Regions from separate parts of the Homo sapiens genome. Here regions 2 and 3 are each linked to region 1. The links are contacts of gene promoters, found by promoter capture Hi-C in blood cells and fetal thymus (Javierre and others, 2016). All regions are on one chromosome and are shown on one strand. The core of a region is centred on a gene start or on the middle of the fragment in contact, and the rest is flanking DNA. Distances in the headings are between cores, read along the strand shown. Region 1 holds the start of CYTH4 (cytohesin 4). Region 2 overlaps LGALS2 (galectin 2). Region 3 has its middle 19 kb from the start of CDC42EP1.

The links. The method cuts DNA at HindIII sites, captures the fragments that hold promoters and counts their contacts. A CHiCAGO score of 5 or more calls a contact.
Region 2: a contact is called between a fragment that was not itself captured here and the fragment with the promoter of CYTH4 in region 1, in 3 of 17 cell types (naive CD4 T cells, non-activated CD4 T cells and naive CD8 T cells). The highest score is 5.4, in naive CD4 T cells.
Region 3: a fragment that was not itself captured here is called in contact with the fragment with the promoter of CYTH4 in region 1 in 1 of 17 cell types (non-activated CD4 T cells); the score reaches 5.4 in non-activated CD4 T cells.

Annotation. Positions count from the first base shown.
Region 1 is chr22:37,280,454-37,285,425 of GRCh38, reverse strand. CYTH4 (cytohesin 4) reads right to left here and starts at 2,918. Exons shown (of 13, transcript NM_013385.5): 1 at 2,838-2,918. The coding sequence starts at 2,856. RefSeq lists a silencer at 442-561 and enhancers at 792-901, 1,514-1,563, 3,110-3,159. The HindIII fragment of the contact is 11,420 bases long and covers 1-3,841 here.
Region 2 is chr22:37,572,695-37,577,666 of GRCh38, reverse strand. All of the region lies in intron 1 of LGALS2 (galectin 2), which reads left to right. Among named protein-coding and RNA genes, the nearest start is that of LGALS2, 4.9 kb to the left of the region's middle. The HindIII fragment of the contact is 9,142 bases long and covers 1-4,972 here.
Region 3 is chr22:37,538,603-37,543,574 of GRCh38, reverse strand. No RefSeq gene overlaps it. Among named protein-coding and RNA genes, the nearest start is that of CDC42EP1, 19 kb to the left of the region's middle. RefSeq lists a silencer at 4,502-4,691 and enhancers at 4,310-4,809, 4,810-4,972. The HindIII fragment of the contact is 2,819 bases long and covers 1,323-4,141 here.

The DNA of each region.
Region 1 (4,972 bases), core at 1,669-4,168:
CCAGGAGATGAATTTTTAAATACTAATAATAATACACACAAATAATAAAATTACCACCACCACCACCACCACCACACACCCCGTTTCCTTCTCACTTATCTCTGTGCTTCTCACAACCTCACAAGGTGTGACATGAACCCCCACCCCAAGCCCACAGGCTGGTGCTGCCCTTGCGCCCAGGCTGGTGAATGTGCCCATCTCCCCGGCTCCTCCCCACTTCCTCTTTGTCCTTCCTCTTTCCCATCGTATTTTTAGAAATCTTTGAGCTTGCAGCCCTGCTTCCAGGACAGCTGGCCTCACTTCCCCTTTCCAGGGCAGGAGGAGGATGCCATCTCAGGGCCCTAAATAAAGAGGCCCCTCAAAGTCTCAGTAGGAGGGACCCTGGGGCAGAGGGGGTGTGGGTGGAGCTGCTCCCCGCCCCAGCCCCACAAGCCCCACAGGCTCTGCGGAGTGCGGCTTCCTCCCCCGCCGCCCCCCCACCGCCCCAGCCGAGCTGGCTCTATTTTTAACTGCGCTGCCTGTCTTCTCTGCACCAGCACAGTGCTTGTCTTTGGCCACACTGGGGCTTTGCTGTCTGGCCCTCTCACCTTCCCGGCAGGCCCTGGGGGAGGGCGCCTTACCTGCTTCCCGACACAGGCCCACCTCAGGAGAGGAGGGGAGGCAGCCCTGGGGGCCCCTGAGTCACCAGCCTGTCCATAATAAAGGTGAGAAAACTGAGGCCCATAGAAGGAAGAGACCATGACCACTGGCAGGGTGGTGCAGAGCTGGAACCTGAGCGAGGTCCGGCTAACTCCCAATCCCCGCTTCCCCAGGCCAGGCCAGGATGATGGCACCCACGTAGAGATGACAAATCAGAACTCAGAGAGGGGAAGTCACCGTGCCATGAAGAAGCCCCATTTAAGACCCAGTCTGGGCAACAGGGAAATGACCTTTTCTCCCTCCCTCTGGCCTCCTCCTCAAGGAGGTCTTCCCAGATCTCCTCTGCCCCAGTGGGAAAAGTTGCTTCCTCCCATCTGTAGGTCTGTGTCCATTTGCACAGCTGGGTCAGGGTCCTGCAGGATGTGGCTCCTGCCTCTCCACCCCACCCCCAACATTCCAGACCAACACCTGTCCCCCAGGGTTAGGCCCATGGCTGGGTCACTGCTGTCCCCAGCACTGCATAGCACACTGGAAGGTCGTTTGTAGAGTGAATGAATGAAAAGACCAACTACTCGATGGAGAACCCATTGACCCCATTTAATCCATTTCCTCCCTAGTACCGGCTGAAGCAAAGCAGAGACTCCCCTCCCCTGCCCTCTCCATAGCCCCGGCCAACCTGGGGCTCTCTCCCGCAGGTTCTCGTCCCTGCTCTGCTGCTGACTGGCCGTGTGACCTCAAGCAAGTCAGTCCCCGTCTCTAGTTCACCTCTGGGAGCCTCAGTTTCCTTATCTGCAACATGGAGACAGCCATCCCTGTAACCTCAGTATGTTAGGACCCGAAAGGACAAAGCGCCCTGCTGGACACACAGGCAGGGGGGTTGCATCTCGGTGGGTGCCCTCCCCCCCTCATCCCACCCTCATGTCTGCTGAGAGGCCTGAGCCAGGTGCTGCCCTTCGCTGGGTCTCCCTGTGCCAACCAGGTGCCCCCAAGCTGTGCTCACTGAGCTGTGATTTTGGGAGCCCCCAAAGCCCATGGGAGAGGCAGGGGTCAGAGTGAGCCCTGGATAGGGATTCAGGGAACAGGATTTGGTCCTGCTCCTGCCTTAGAGAGGCTGTTTTCCTCCCTTGGCCTCTTTTCTCCCTTCTGCCACTGGGGGGGCTGTTGAAATGGATCAGTGGTTCTCTGGGTTCCCTGGGGCCCGAGGCTTCCATCTGGGGGTGGGGAGGAAGGGGGATGCCCAGTGGGCGGGGCCAGGCTGCTCCACATTAGGTGCGTTTGAAGCAAGGGTGCTCCTGGACAAGGCTGAGGTCATCTGGACCTGGGGAGCAGACAGCTCCCACGAGCCCTTAGGTTCTGGAATTCCAGCAGCCGTGTTCACCAGAACTGTTGCAGCTCTGGAGCATGCTGACATCCAGGGTGCAGAAACTTGGCCCCTCTACCGGGCCTTCAATTTGCCTCCCAAAACACGACCCTGATGTTCTTTTCCTCACCATCTTTGCAGCCTCCTTTCTCCTCTTTCTCCCCAGACACATTGTCTTAGTAGCTGGGGAGGGTTTCAACCAGAGCCTCTGTTGCTCACTCCTGGCCCTCCCCTGGCTCTAGGCAGCGTCCTCAGCCTCCCCAAAGACCACCCCAACCCCCGGGGGCCAAAAAGGGGCCTCAAGGCCCTTGTATCACCCAGACAAGCATCGCCATCACCAACATCCCATCATCATCTTAATCGCAAGTCACTTTTCTGAGTCCACCTCTGAGCCTTTGGACTGGCTGTTCCTTCTGGCTGGAATGTTTGTTCCTTAGAAAGCCCCTTAGCTGACATCTTCCTCAGGTCCCTCATCAGACAGCATCTCCTCTTGGGGCCTTTTCCACCATGCATTCCTGTCTTCCTTACCCTGCTTTACTGTTCTTCATCCTACCTGCCATCAACTGACATATGGAATCACATTAGAGTCACTGCCGGTCTCCTCATCTAGAGCACAAGCCTATGAAGGGGGAAACAGCGTCTGCTTTGCTACTGCTGTGTGTCCAGCCCCTAGAACGCAACTGGACACACAGGCTGAGCCCACAAATGTTTGCTTCTTGCAGCTGCATTTCCCACCTGCGCTGTATTCCTTTATCTAGGACCCTGTGAGGCAGGGGCTGCTGTCCCATTCTAAAAGAGAGCACCCTGAGGCCCAGAGAGGTTGACGGCAGTTGCTTACCTGGGTGGCACAGGTCCATTCCGACGCCTCTGGGGAAAAGATGACCCGTGCTCCTGTCGCTTGCCGACCCAGCTGCTGTTCGGGCTGGCCCGGCAAGGATGCGTCACCTTGACTGTAACAGGCTCCTTCCTGCTTGCCCCGCCCAGCCCTGTGTGGGGAGGAAGTCAGTCCTGGCCCACGGGGGTCTCGTGTGCAGGCTTTTGACAAAACAGCACTTCCTAAAAACTGGCAGAGTTTTGAGCAGCAGGGACTTTTGCCAGGGAGGGACAGAGGTGGAAACAAACAAACAAACAAACAAACAAACAGATGAAGTGAGGGGAGGGCCAGATAAAAAAGAGAAAGACAGTGAGACAGAAAGAAACACACAGACACATATGCACATACACACGTACACATGCACAGACACCGAGGGCGATGTTCACTGAGGACGAACATTTTCCAGGGGACCATGGGCATTCACGTGGCAGCCTCCTCACATATATGCCATAGGAGCGCCCAACTTGGACAGTCCTAGCAGGGCCCCCTGTGTTCCACCCCACAAGCTCTCTTCCAACTCCCACTTGAGAAGAGACAAATGAATTCACTGCTAGGAAGGGCTTTGCTTCCCTTCAAAGAAATATCTGGCTTTTTCTTGTCTAGTGAACAATCGGGTAATATGTTCCACTTTCCTTCTCCCCCAGGCTGCTGGGAAACTCATCGTCAAATCCAAAGCTCATCGACAGCTATTCTATGATGTCATGTGAACTTTGGGGCCTGACTCAGCTGTTTGACTCTCAGCTAGGGCTAGTCAGCCTCGCTTTGCTTATCTCTGAAAGGGGAATAACACTAACTCGGGGATATGGAAACCATGGAGTGAGAGGATGTGTCGGAGATGCTTGGGACATAGTAGGTGCTCAATAAACACTTTCTCCTTTGATTTTAATTATCTTCTTTGGTTAAAATGTATCATGTTATTCCTTGTGCCTTTTCTGGCAGGTTGGTTCAAATCCTTTCTGCAAAAAGCTTTGCTGTAAAGAAACAGGTATAAATTAAATGTGAATTCCCTATAACTTCAGGACACATGCAGAGTTATTCATCTGTTTCCCCATTACTCTCCAGGCCCCATGAGGGCAAGGTTACCTTTTGTGTTCTGGTGTGTGGTAAAATGCTGGGGACATAGAGGGTGTGCAAGTGTGGAATGAATGAACAAATGAATGAATGAATGAATGAATGAAGGGAACATGGAAGAGATCACGGCCGATGTGAAAGCTAGCTACAAGTTCACCTCCTTTTCACTATGCCGCCGCTTCTGCTGTCAAGGGGCGAAGTCCATTTCTCCTTCCTTGGAAGCTGAGCTGGCCTTGGGCATCTCTTTGACCAATAGCACGTGGCAGAAATGATGTGCCGTGATGTTCGAGGCTGAGCTTTAAAAGGCCTTGCAGCTCCTGCTCTTGCTCTCAGCCCCCTGCCTGGCTACCATGAGAACAAGCCTGGGCTAGCCTGTTGGAAGACGGAGGACCACAAGGAGATAGGCTGGGCTGTCTTGGCTGTCCCCTGGTTGCTGCCTCATCAGTGAGGCCAGGGGACACCAGAAGAAGAACCATCAAGCGGAGTCCCACCCAAACTGCTGACCCATAGCACTGTGGGAAATAATACATTTTTGTGGTTTAAGCCACCAACTTCTGGGATGCTTTGTTATGCAGCCAAAGCTTGCTGATACAGAAGAAATCCAATGCTGTCATTTCCTCGGAGAGAAAACTGAGGCTTATTTCTGGGAAACACTTGACCAAGTTGGAACTTGAGTGAGTGCCAATTCAGGCCCAGAAGCCAGGCCTACTAAGTCCCCGTCTAGTGTGCTCAGGATTTTTGAACCCCGCTGCTTCTCCCCTGCCCTGCCTCCACCTGGGTTCTTGTATAACTCATGGTTCTTTTCTGGAAAACTTGTTACAATTATTTCCATGGTAAACTAGATTTTTCTCAACTGCTTTGGGCCTGAGGCACCACAAACCATGCCCTTGGCCATTTTAAAACTAGAAATGTGGGCTGGGCATAGTGGCTCATGCCTGTAATCCCAGCACTTTGGGAGGCCGAGGCGGGTGGATCACAAGGTCAGGAGATCAAGACCATCCTGGCCAACGTGGTGAAACCCCGTCTAT
Region 2 (4,972 bases), core at 1,013-3,512, 290 kb before region 1:
TGGCTCACCCCTGTAATCCCAGCACTTTGGGAGGCCGAGGCAGGCGGATCACTTGAGATCAGGAGTTCAAGACCAGCCTGGCCAACATGGTGAAACCCTGTCTGTACTGAAAATACAAAAACAAAAAAGAAGAAGAAGAAGAAAAAAAAATTAGACAGATGTTGTGGTGGGCACCCGTAATCCCAGCTACTTGGGAGGCTGAGGCAGGAGAATCGGTTGAACCCGGGAGGCAGAGGTTGCAGTGAGCCGAGATCGAGCCACTGTACTCCAGCCTAGGTGACAGAGTGAGACTTCATCTCAAAAAAAAAAAAAAAGGTCACATTGACAGGTTCCAGGTGGACATGAATTTTCGGGGGACGCTATTCAAGTGCAGGGGGGATGCAGGATGTGAATGTGCCAGGGGTCCTGCGTGGAAGGGTCTATGCCCTCATCACCCTCTGCCTCTCGGGGAGGACTGCTGTGGCCCACGGACTCTCCCCACCTTCTCTTTCCTGGTCATCTCACCTCTGCCTTTTCTTTCCTCTCTCTCCAGCTCCAGAGGCCATATCATCCAAATCCCTTATACGACAGATAAGGGAACCAAGGCCCAGAAAGGGGCTAAGCTGGCCCCAGGCCCCTCTGCCAATTAGGGGCAGAGTCGGCACTAGAGTCTGGGCCCCCAACTCCCCACCCCCCCAGCTCTAGGGACGACCACACCCCCACCCAGTTCTGCCTGTCTCTCTCTGCGCCTTTGACTCTGTTGGGTGGGGACAAGGCTCCCGGGCCTGCACCCTCCCGCAGCTCTCAGCATCCCTATTTGTCCAAGTGCACCCCTGACCCTGGACTTCCGAGTGCTTCTGCCCTGCAGCAGCCCCCACCTCTATCCTTGGGGTTTGAGCTTTGCTGTTTCAGTCAGGCAGCCCCCAGGAGCTGCAAGGGGAGTGTGGGTGCTTCTCTTAGTCCAGGCCCAGCTCCCCTATCCTGGCCTGACTGTTGCAGGGCTCGGGGTGTGGGCACAGGCTGCTGGCAGGAGGCAGGGAGCCATCTCCTGATGCTTGGTGTTAGACGTGTGTGTGCGCAGGGCACACGTCTGTGAGTGTCTGTGTGGCGGGCACACCTGTCTTCTGTTTCTTGTTTGAGCCCCTTTTGGACTGTCCTCACTGGATAACCTCATCTCCCAGAGATAATGGTCTTTGTCAGTGAGAGACTGATTTTTTTTTTTTTTTTTTTTTTTTTGAGACGGAGTCTCGCTCTGTCGCCCAGGCTGGAGTGCAGTGGCGCCATCTTGGCTCACTGCAAGCACCGCCTCCCGGGTTCACGCCATTCTCCTGCCTCAGCCTCCCGAGTAGCTGGGACTACAGGCGCCTGCCACCACGCCCGGCTAATTTTTTGTATTTTTAGTAGAGACAGGGTTTCACCGTGTTAGCCAGGATGATCTCACTCTCCTGACCTCGTGATCCGCCCCCCTCGGCCTCCCAAAGTGCTGGGATTACAGGTGTGAGCCACCGCCCCTGGCCAGCAAGAGACTGATTTTAATCCCGTCTGTCTGGCTCCAAAATCTGGACCCAACCCCGTTGTGTTAAGCAAAGACATGGGGAGTTAGGTGTCCAGCCTCCAAACCCCACTTTCTCTAAAGCAGGGAGGTTTTGCTCCCAGGAGACAACGGACCCTGTCTGGAGACATTCTTGGTTGTCACCGCTCAGGGGAGGGTGTCACTGACATCCAGTGGGTAGAGGCCAGGAATACTGCTCAACATCCTACAACACAAGAGACAGACCCCAACAAAGAAATGCCTGCCCCAAACGTCCAGACGGCCAAGGCTGAGAAGCTCTGGTCTGAGCAGCCTCCTGTCTGACATGCCGCCGTCATGGCCCGCTGTCCTGGGTTAAGCATTGCTGCCTCCTCCAGGCGTCTCTTATAAAATGTACTGCCAGGCCGGGCACAGTGGCTTACACCTGTAATCCCAACACTTTGGGAGGCCGAGGTGGGAGGATCCTTTGAGCTCAGGAGGTCGAGGCTGGCCTGGACAACATAGTGAGACCCCATCTGAAAAAAAAAAAAATCAGCTGGGCCAGGTGGGATGCCTGTGGTCCAGGCTACCTGGGGGGCTGAGGTGGGAGGATTGCTTGAGCCCAAGAGGTCAAGGCTGTAGTGAGCTCTGATCATATCACTGCACTCTAGCCTGGGTGACAGAGCAAGACCTTTAAAAAAAAATGTATTACCGGCTGAGGCAGGAGGACCACTTGAGGGTCAGGAGTTCCAGAGCAGCCTGGGTAACATAGCAAAACCCTATCTCTACAAAAATTTTAAAAATTAGCTGGGCATGGTGGCACACGTCTATAGTCGTAGCTACTTAGGAGGCTGAGGCAGGAGAATCGTTTGAGCTCAGGAGGCTATGAGGCTGCATGCAGTGAGTTATAATCGTGCTACTGCACTCCATCTTGGGTGACAGAGCAAGACCCTGTCTCAAAAAAAAAAAAAAAAGAAAGAAAAGAAAAAAAATGCTGGGTGTGGTATCTCACCCCTATAATCCCAGAACTTTGGGAGGCCCAGAGGGGAGGATCACTTGAGGTCAGGAGTTCGAGACCAACCTGGCCAAAGTGGTGAAACCCCGTCTCTACTAAAAATACAAAGAAAATTAGCTAGATATGGTGGTGGGAGCCTGTAATCTCAGTGACTCGGGAGGCTGAGGCAGGATAATTGCTTGAATCTGGGAAGTGGAGGTTGCAGTGAGCCAAGATTGCACCACTGCACTCCAGCATGGGTGACAGAGTGAGACTCCATCTCAACATCTCAAAAAAAAAAAAAAAAGAACTTACTGCCTGTGGAAGAGTTGAGCAATACCTAACAACCTACCCCTACATGTGACCAACCAGCGGGTCACTTCCTCCTCTGCAGAGAGGAGGCGGCTGCCAGCGAGAGGGCACTGAGGGTCCTCCCATGGCCACTGCCCCCTTGACTTCTGGCAAAGTGCCCCAGTCCAATGAGCTCATTCAGGGCATCTCAGATCATGCTTTTTCTGGAAATAAAAAGTCAGTGAGCAGAACTCCCACAATGTAAAAGTGTCCTCCCATAAGTTGTTCTAAATCTTTGGTGCCTGTTGCGTCCTGGTCAGACCAACCCTCACCCTCTGGTCATAGATGCGAAAACTGGTCTTGGGTAATGAGTTTTTTTTTTTTTTTTTTTTTAGACAGAGTCTTGCTCTGTCGCCTGGCACAATCTCGGCTCACTGCAACCTCCACCTCCTGGGTTCAAGCGATTCTCTTGCCTCAGCCTCCCAAGTAGCTGGGACGACAGGCATGTGCCACCACACCCGGCTAATTTTTGTATTTTTAATAGAGACAGGGTTTCTCCATGTTGGCCAGGCCAGTCTCAAACTCCTGACCTCAGGTGATCCACCCGACTCAGCCTCCCAAAGTGCTGGGATTACAGGCGTGAGCCACCGCTCCCAGCCCTGGGTAATGAGCTTTGAAAACCCAGCTTAGAAATCTTCCCTAGTAACCATCGTGAGGCTAGAGGAGGCTCCTACTGTACAGAAATTCAGGTGCTGCTTTCCTATGGAAAATAAGGAGCAGATGAATCTTAACAACAAGTAATCAAAATGATGGTCATTTGGGCAGACCACTGTCCAGAAAAAAAGAAAAAATTTAAAAAAGAAAATTAAGGCTGGGCTTGGTTCACGCCTGTAATCCCAGCACTTTGGGGAGCTGAGGTGGGCAGATCAATTGAGGCCAGGAGTTTGAGACCAGCCACACCAACATGGTGAAACCTTGTCTCTACTAAAAATGCAAAAATTAGGCATGGTGGTACATGCCTGTAGTCCCAGCTACTCGGGAGGCTGAGGCAGGAGAATCGCTTGAACCTGAGAGGTGGAGGTTGCAGTGAGTCGAGATCGCACCGTTGCACTCCAGCCTGGGCGACAAAGCAAGACTCTGCTCAAAAAAACAAAAAAAAAAACAAAAAAAGAAAAGGAAAGTAAAACAATAAATGATGGTGGTCCTGTGATTTGCTGTTGGTCTACGTGAGGCCCTGTGCATGGGATTTCACAAACATGTTCTTGAATCCTCTCAAAACCAGCTTGAAGGTTGGTGGTGTCTCCCTGGTGTGACAGGGTCTGTCATACAGCTGGCATTCAGCAACAACAACAACAAAAATAGAAATGGGAGTCTCGCTATGTTGCCCAGGCTGGTCTCCAACTCCTGGGCTCAAGTGACCCTCCTGTCTCAGCATCCTGAGTAGCTGGAATACAGGTACACACTTCCACACCCAGGCTATCAACTGTTTTTTAAATGAATAAATCAAATTAGTCAATTTTACAGAAGGGGAAAGTGAGGCTTGGAGAGAGACTTTGATGGACATAGGACTTGCGGAGTTTTATAGATTCTTAGTTTTTGTTCGTTTGTTTGTTTTTGTTTTTGAGACAGAGTCTTGCTCTGTTGCCTAGGCTGGAGTGCAGTGGCGTGATCTTGTCTTACTGCAACCTCTGCCTCCCAGGCTTAAGCCGTTCTCCTGCCTCAGCCTCCCAAGTAGCTGGGACTATAGATGCGTGCCACCACACCTGGCTAATTTTTGCATTTTTAGTAGAGACAGGGTTAAATGTTAGGCAGACTGGTCTTAAACTCCTGACCTCAGGTGATCTGGCTGCCTCGGCCTTCCAAAGTGCTGGGATTACAGGTGTGAGCCACTGTGCCCGGCCTTTTTTTTTTGTTTTTCTTTGAGATGAAAAGTCACTCTTGTCGCCCAGGCTGGAGTGCAATGGTACGATCTCAGCTCATGGCAACCTCCGCTTCCAGAATTCAAGCAATTCTCCCGCCTCAGCCTCCCAAGTAGCTGGGATTACAGGCGCCCGCCACCATGCGCAGATAATTTATTTTATTTTATTTTATTTATTATTATTATTATTATTATTATTATTATTTTTGAGATGGAGTTTCGCTCTGTCGCCCAGGCTGGAGGGCAGTGACGCGATCTCACCTCACTGCAAGCTCCGCCT
Region 3 (4,972 bases), core at 1,483-3,982, 260 kb before region 1:
CGGGGTTTCTCCACGTTGGTCAGGCTGGTCTCGAACTCCCAACCTCAGGTGATCCACCCACCTCGGCCTCCCAAAGTGCTGGGATTACAGGCGTGAGCCACCGCGCCTGGCCAATTTCTTTGTATTTTCGGTTGAGACGGGGTTTCTCCATGTTGGTCAGGCTGGTCTGGAACTCCCAACCTTAGGTGATCTGTCCACCTTGGCCTCCCAAAGTGCTGGGATTACAGGCGTGAGCCACCGTGCCCGGCCTGAATCTTTCAAAATACTTTTAAAAACCCTACTGTTTATTGAGCATGTACTGCCCGCCTGGCACTGCTCTGAGCCTCATCCGTGTTGATTCATGTCATCCTCACCACAATCCTATGTCGCAGTAGGTACTAAGATTTGTTCCCATTTCACTGATGGGGAAACTGAGACCTACAGAAGCTAAGAAACTTGCCCAACATCACAAAAACCCTGTGACTTGTGAGGCGTCCACCTGGACATGGGCTCTTACCCACTGGTTTGCAGTTTCCCAACCTGCCTCAGGGTCCTTGAACACTTGATGAAATTCCTCCAGGAGTCTTGGGTAGGAGCTGGGATCCTTACTTTTCACTCTTTTGCCCTCTAAGTTTGTGACGTTTGAATCAAGAAATGGCCGAATGCTTGAGGCCCAGAGTTTGAGACCAGCCTAATGAACACAGTGAGACTCCATCTCTAGGGTGTGGTGGCACATGCCTGTAATCCCAGCTCCTTGGGAGGCTGAGGCAGGAGAATTGCTTGAAGCTGGGAAGCGGATGTTGCAGTGAGCTGAGATCATGCCATTGCACTCCAGCCTGGGTGACAGAGCGAGACTCCATCTCAAAAAGAAAAAGAAAAGAAAAGAAAAGAAAATGAGCTGGGCATGGTGGTGCTACTCAGGAGGCTGAGGCAGGAGGATCGCCTGAGCCCAGGAGTTTGAGCAGGCTGCAGTGAGCCATGATTGCACCACTGCGCTCCAGCCTGGGCCACAGGGCAATTCCTAGTCTCAAAAAAAAAAAAAAAAAAAAAAAAAAAAAGGCCAGTTCTGCTTTAAACCCCACTGGAGAGGCAGAAGACTGGGGTTCAACTTCCTAGGCCCTACTTACTTTCTTTGGGGTGGTCTTGGGTAGTTCCCTCACCCTGAACTTTGGTTTCTGTATTTCTAAAATGGGGATACAGTACCTCCCTGGATACCATCCCTGAGTTACCTGAGACTGGGCTTGGGAAAGAGGTTTGCGAATGGTTCAGGCTGTGGGTTCCTGGGACCCAGGGGTGGTAGGCTCAGGGATAGGAGTGTGGACAGTCCAGGAGTTGCTCAAGCTTGTCTAGCCCCCAGAGCTAGGCTCTTTCCTAGCTAGTGTCATCAGTGGCTGGGGAGGTCATGCCACGATGGCAAAGTTGGGGGTGGCAGGAGTAGTAGGGAAGTCTGGTTGTGAGCCTGCCTTCTCCCATCCACCCCACCTGACACCCAGCACGCCCTGGCTGGCAGTTGCTAGTGATTCACCAGCTTTAAGCCCTAGTTTCATTTGTAATCAGGAAACGGGCCACTAGAGAGCCCGGGGCACTTTCTGGTGAGCCCAGACACCCTCCCAGAAACCTAGTGGGGAGGAGGAAAGCAGAGGGCCTGGTCCCAGAGAATTTGCATAATTTGTTCTTTGAGGAGGGTGAGAAATCCCCAGGGCCCAATTTCCCTGGAAACCATTTGCTCATGAGCTCATTCATTCTCGTTTATTAAACTCCTGCACTGTGCCAGTTACCAGGGACCTAGACAAGAACAGTGAAGTTTTCCGGGGGCTTCTGGGAGGGGAAGACCACCGTGTAATCGGGGTAACCCTTGCACAGCACAGTGAGGGATGTGTTTACAAAATTTGGAATCCACGGAGGAGAGGGTGGTGCATTTGGGCTTGGTATGGGTAAGGGGAGGTTCAACAATTCTGAGGCCCCTACCAGGAGGGTTGACAGTGCAGGCTGGGTTTGGCTCCTTCTGCCACTTTTTTTTTTTTTGACATAGAGTGTTGCTCTGTCGCCCAGGCTGGAGTGCAGTGGCTCGATCTTGGCTCACTGCAAGCTCCGCCTCCCAGGTTCACGCCATTCTCCTGCCTCAGCCTCCTGAGTAGGTGGGACTACAGGCGCCCACCACCACGCCTGGCTAATTTTTTGAATTTTTAGTAGAGATGGGGTTTCACCGTGTGAACCAGGATGGTCTCGATCTCCTGACCTTGTGATCCGCCCGCCTCGGCCTCCCAAAGTGCTGGGATTACAGGCGTGAGCCACCGTGCCCGGCCTCCTTCTGCCACTTCTGAATGGTTCTTCTCCCATCTGGGCCTTGGTTTTCCCATCCGTGAGCTGGACACAGGAATGGTGGCTTTTTCCTGGTGTTGTTATGAGAATCCAAAGGGTTAACACATGTAAAGAGCTTACGACAGCACCTGGTGTATGGTCAGCCTTGTGATGTTTTAGCTGATGCCACTGCTGAATGGTGGGTACTGTGGGAGGGGCTGCCCAAGACATGGGTTGGAGCATGCCTGGCAGACAGGGAGAGGACATGCCAGGGGAAGGCCACTGCCTGTGCAAATGCCCAGAGGTGTGTAGCACATGGATGTGTTGGACAGTGGTGGGGTGAGAGGTGGGAAGGAGCATTTGAAGATACTATCATTCCCTTTGGATATTCTCCTCAGGGCAGCAGGGAGCCATGGAAGGCTCTTGAGCAGAGGAGTGACATGGTAGAGCTGAACGCCAGGGCTACAGAGTGGTGATGGACTGGAGGGGCCAGACCAGGGCAGAGGGACCAGTTAGGAGTAGGCACAAGAAGCCTGGTGGGAGATGGGGTTCCTGAACGAGGGCATTAGTTCTGGGGATGGAGAGGCCAGGAGAGGACTAGTGGAGGGGGTGGGGCATGTAGCTGAGCTGCTGGTGATGAAACAAGGAGCGAGGAACACAGTGGGCTGAGGGAGATGGAGGAGTGTGAGTGTCCTGGAAGCCATTGATTCAGAAGATACTAATATACTTAGCAGGGGATGTTGAAGGAGGACTTTGAAATGTCTGTAGTAGTCGTCCAGGGGATCAGCAAGGGAAGGGCATCCCAGACAGAGAGCTGCCAAAGCAAGAGTGCAGAGGTGTCAAATAGCCTGTGTGTTTGGAGAGCAGTGGGTGTGGTGGAGTTTGGGTTTTGGGGGGAAGTAGGGGGCCAGGAGTTTGGGGCCTTGGGCACAATCCTGTAGGCTATTAGGAGTGGGAGTCAGTGAACCGAGTGGCAGGAAGAAAATTTAAACATCTCTATTAGTTTCCTGTGGCAGCTGTAACAAATGACCACAATCTTGGTGGCTTAAAACAATAAAAATTTATTCTCTCCACGCCAGGTGCAGGGCTCTCGCCTGTGATCCCAGCACTTTGGGAAGCCAACGCAGGAGGATCGCTTGAGCCCAGTAGTTCGAGACCAGCTTGGGCAACATAGTGAGACCCTCATCTCTACAAAAAACTTTAAAAAATTAGCTGGACATGGTGGTGTGAGCTGGGAGTCCCAGCCACTTGGGAGGCTGAGGTGGGAGAATCGCTTGAGCCCAGGAGGTCAAGGCTGCAGTGAGCTATGATCACACCACTGCACTCCAGCCTGGGCAATAGAGCAAGACCCTGTCACTGAAAAACAAACAAACAAAAATGATTAGTTCTGGAATCCAGAAGTCTGAAATCAAGGTGTTGGAGGGGCCCCGCTCCCTCTGAAGGTGCTAGGGGAGAATCCTTCCTTGCCTCTTCCCGCTTCTGGTGGCTCCAGGTGTCCTTGCCTTATGGCAGCCTCGCTCCTGCCTCTGCCGACATTTCCGTGTAGCTCCCTCTGTGTCAGCATCTTCTCTTCTTGTAAGGACACTTGTCAGTGGATTTGGCCCCCCACGGATAATCCAGGACGATCTCATCTTGAGATCCTTACTTTTTTTTTTTTTTAAGATGGAGTTTCGTTCTTGTCACCCAGGCTGGCGTGCAATGGTGCAATCTGGTCTCACTGCAACCCTCTCCTCCCGGGTTCAAGCGATTCTCCTGCCTCAGCCTCCCAAGTAGCTGGAATTACAGGCATCCGCCACTACGCCTGGCTAATTTTTTATTTATATTTTTAGTAGAGAGGGGGTTTCGCTGTGTTGGTCAAGCTTGTCTTGAGCTCCTGACCTCAGGTGATCCGCCAGCCTCAGCCTCCCAAAGTGCTGGGATTACAGGAGTGAGCCACCGCGCCCGGCCGAGATTCTTATCTTCATTACATTCGCAAAGACTCTTTTTTCAAATAAGACTGTATTCCCTGGTCCCAGGTGGACGTGTCTTTTGCAGGGGGGCCACCAGTCAACCCACTGCAAAATCCCCAGGCAGTGCCCTCTCCCACGTTCCTCTCCTCCTTGGGGCTCCCAGCCCCTCCAATCCAGCCTCCTTGAGTAGGAACTGTGTGGTCCTCATTCACTTTTCCACCCCTAGGGCCCAGAGTGGGCAGTGTGTTTGCAAATATAACTCCGTTCCTCTCTTCTTCCCTCCCTCCCTCCAGTAACCGATGCCACCAGAGGCTAGAACTGGTGCTGCACCTGTGGGACGAGGGCGCCACCGTGTGTCCAGCTTGGAGCAGTGTGGTCACAGGCTTGAGCCCAGCCCCTGCCCTGCTGACAGCCACTTACAGAGCGCCTGCCCCACCAGTCACTCCACCCACATCAGCCCTCTTCTTCATGGCCGCAGTATAAAGAGGGAATTACTATCCAGTTTTTCAGATAAGGAGACTGAGGCTGAGACCTTGCTAACGTCACCCAGCCTTCAGCTGCCGCCAACTCCAAAGCCACACCCACGCCATGCTGTGGACCAAAACTAGACCTGTGCGTGGGTCTGGGCGTGAGCCTTCAGACTTCTCAGGGTGTCCTGCTATTGGGAAGCTGACGCAGGAGGATTGCTTGAGCCCAGTAGTTCGAGACCAGCTTGGGCAACATAGTGAGACCCTCATCTCTAC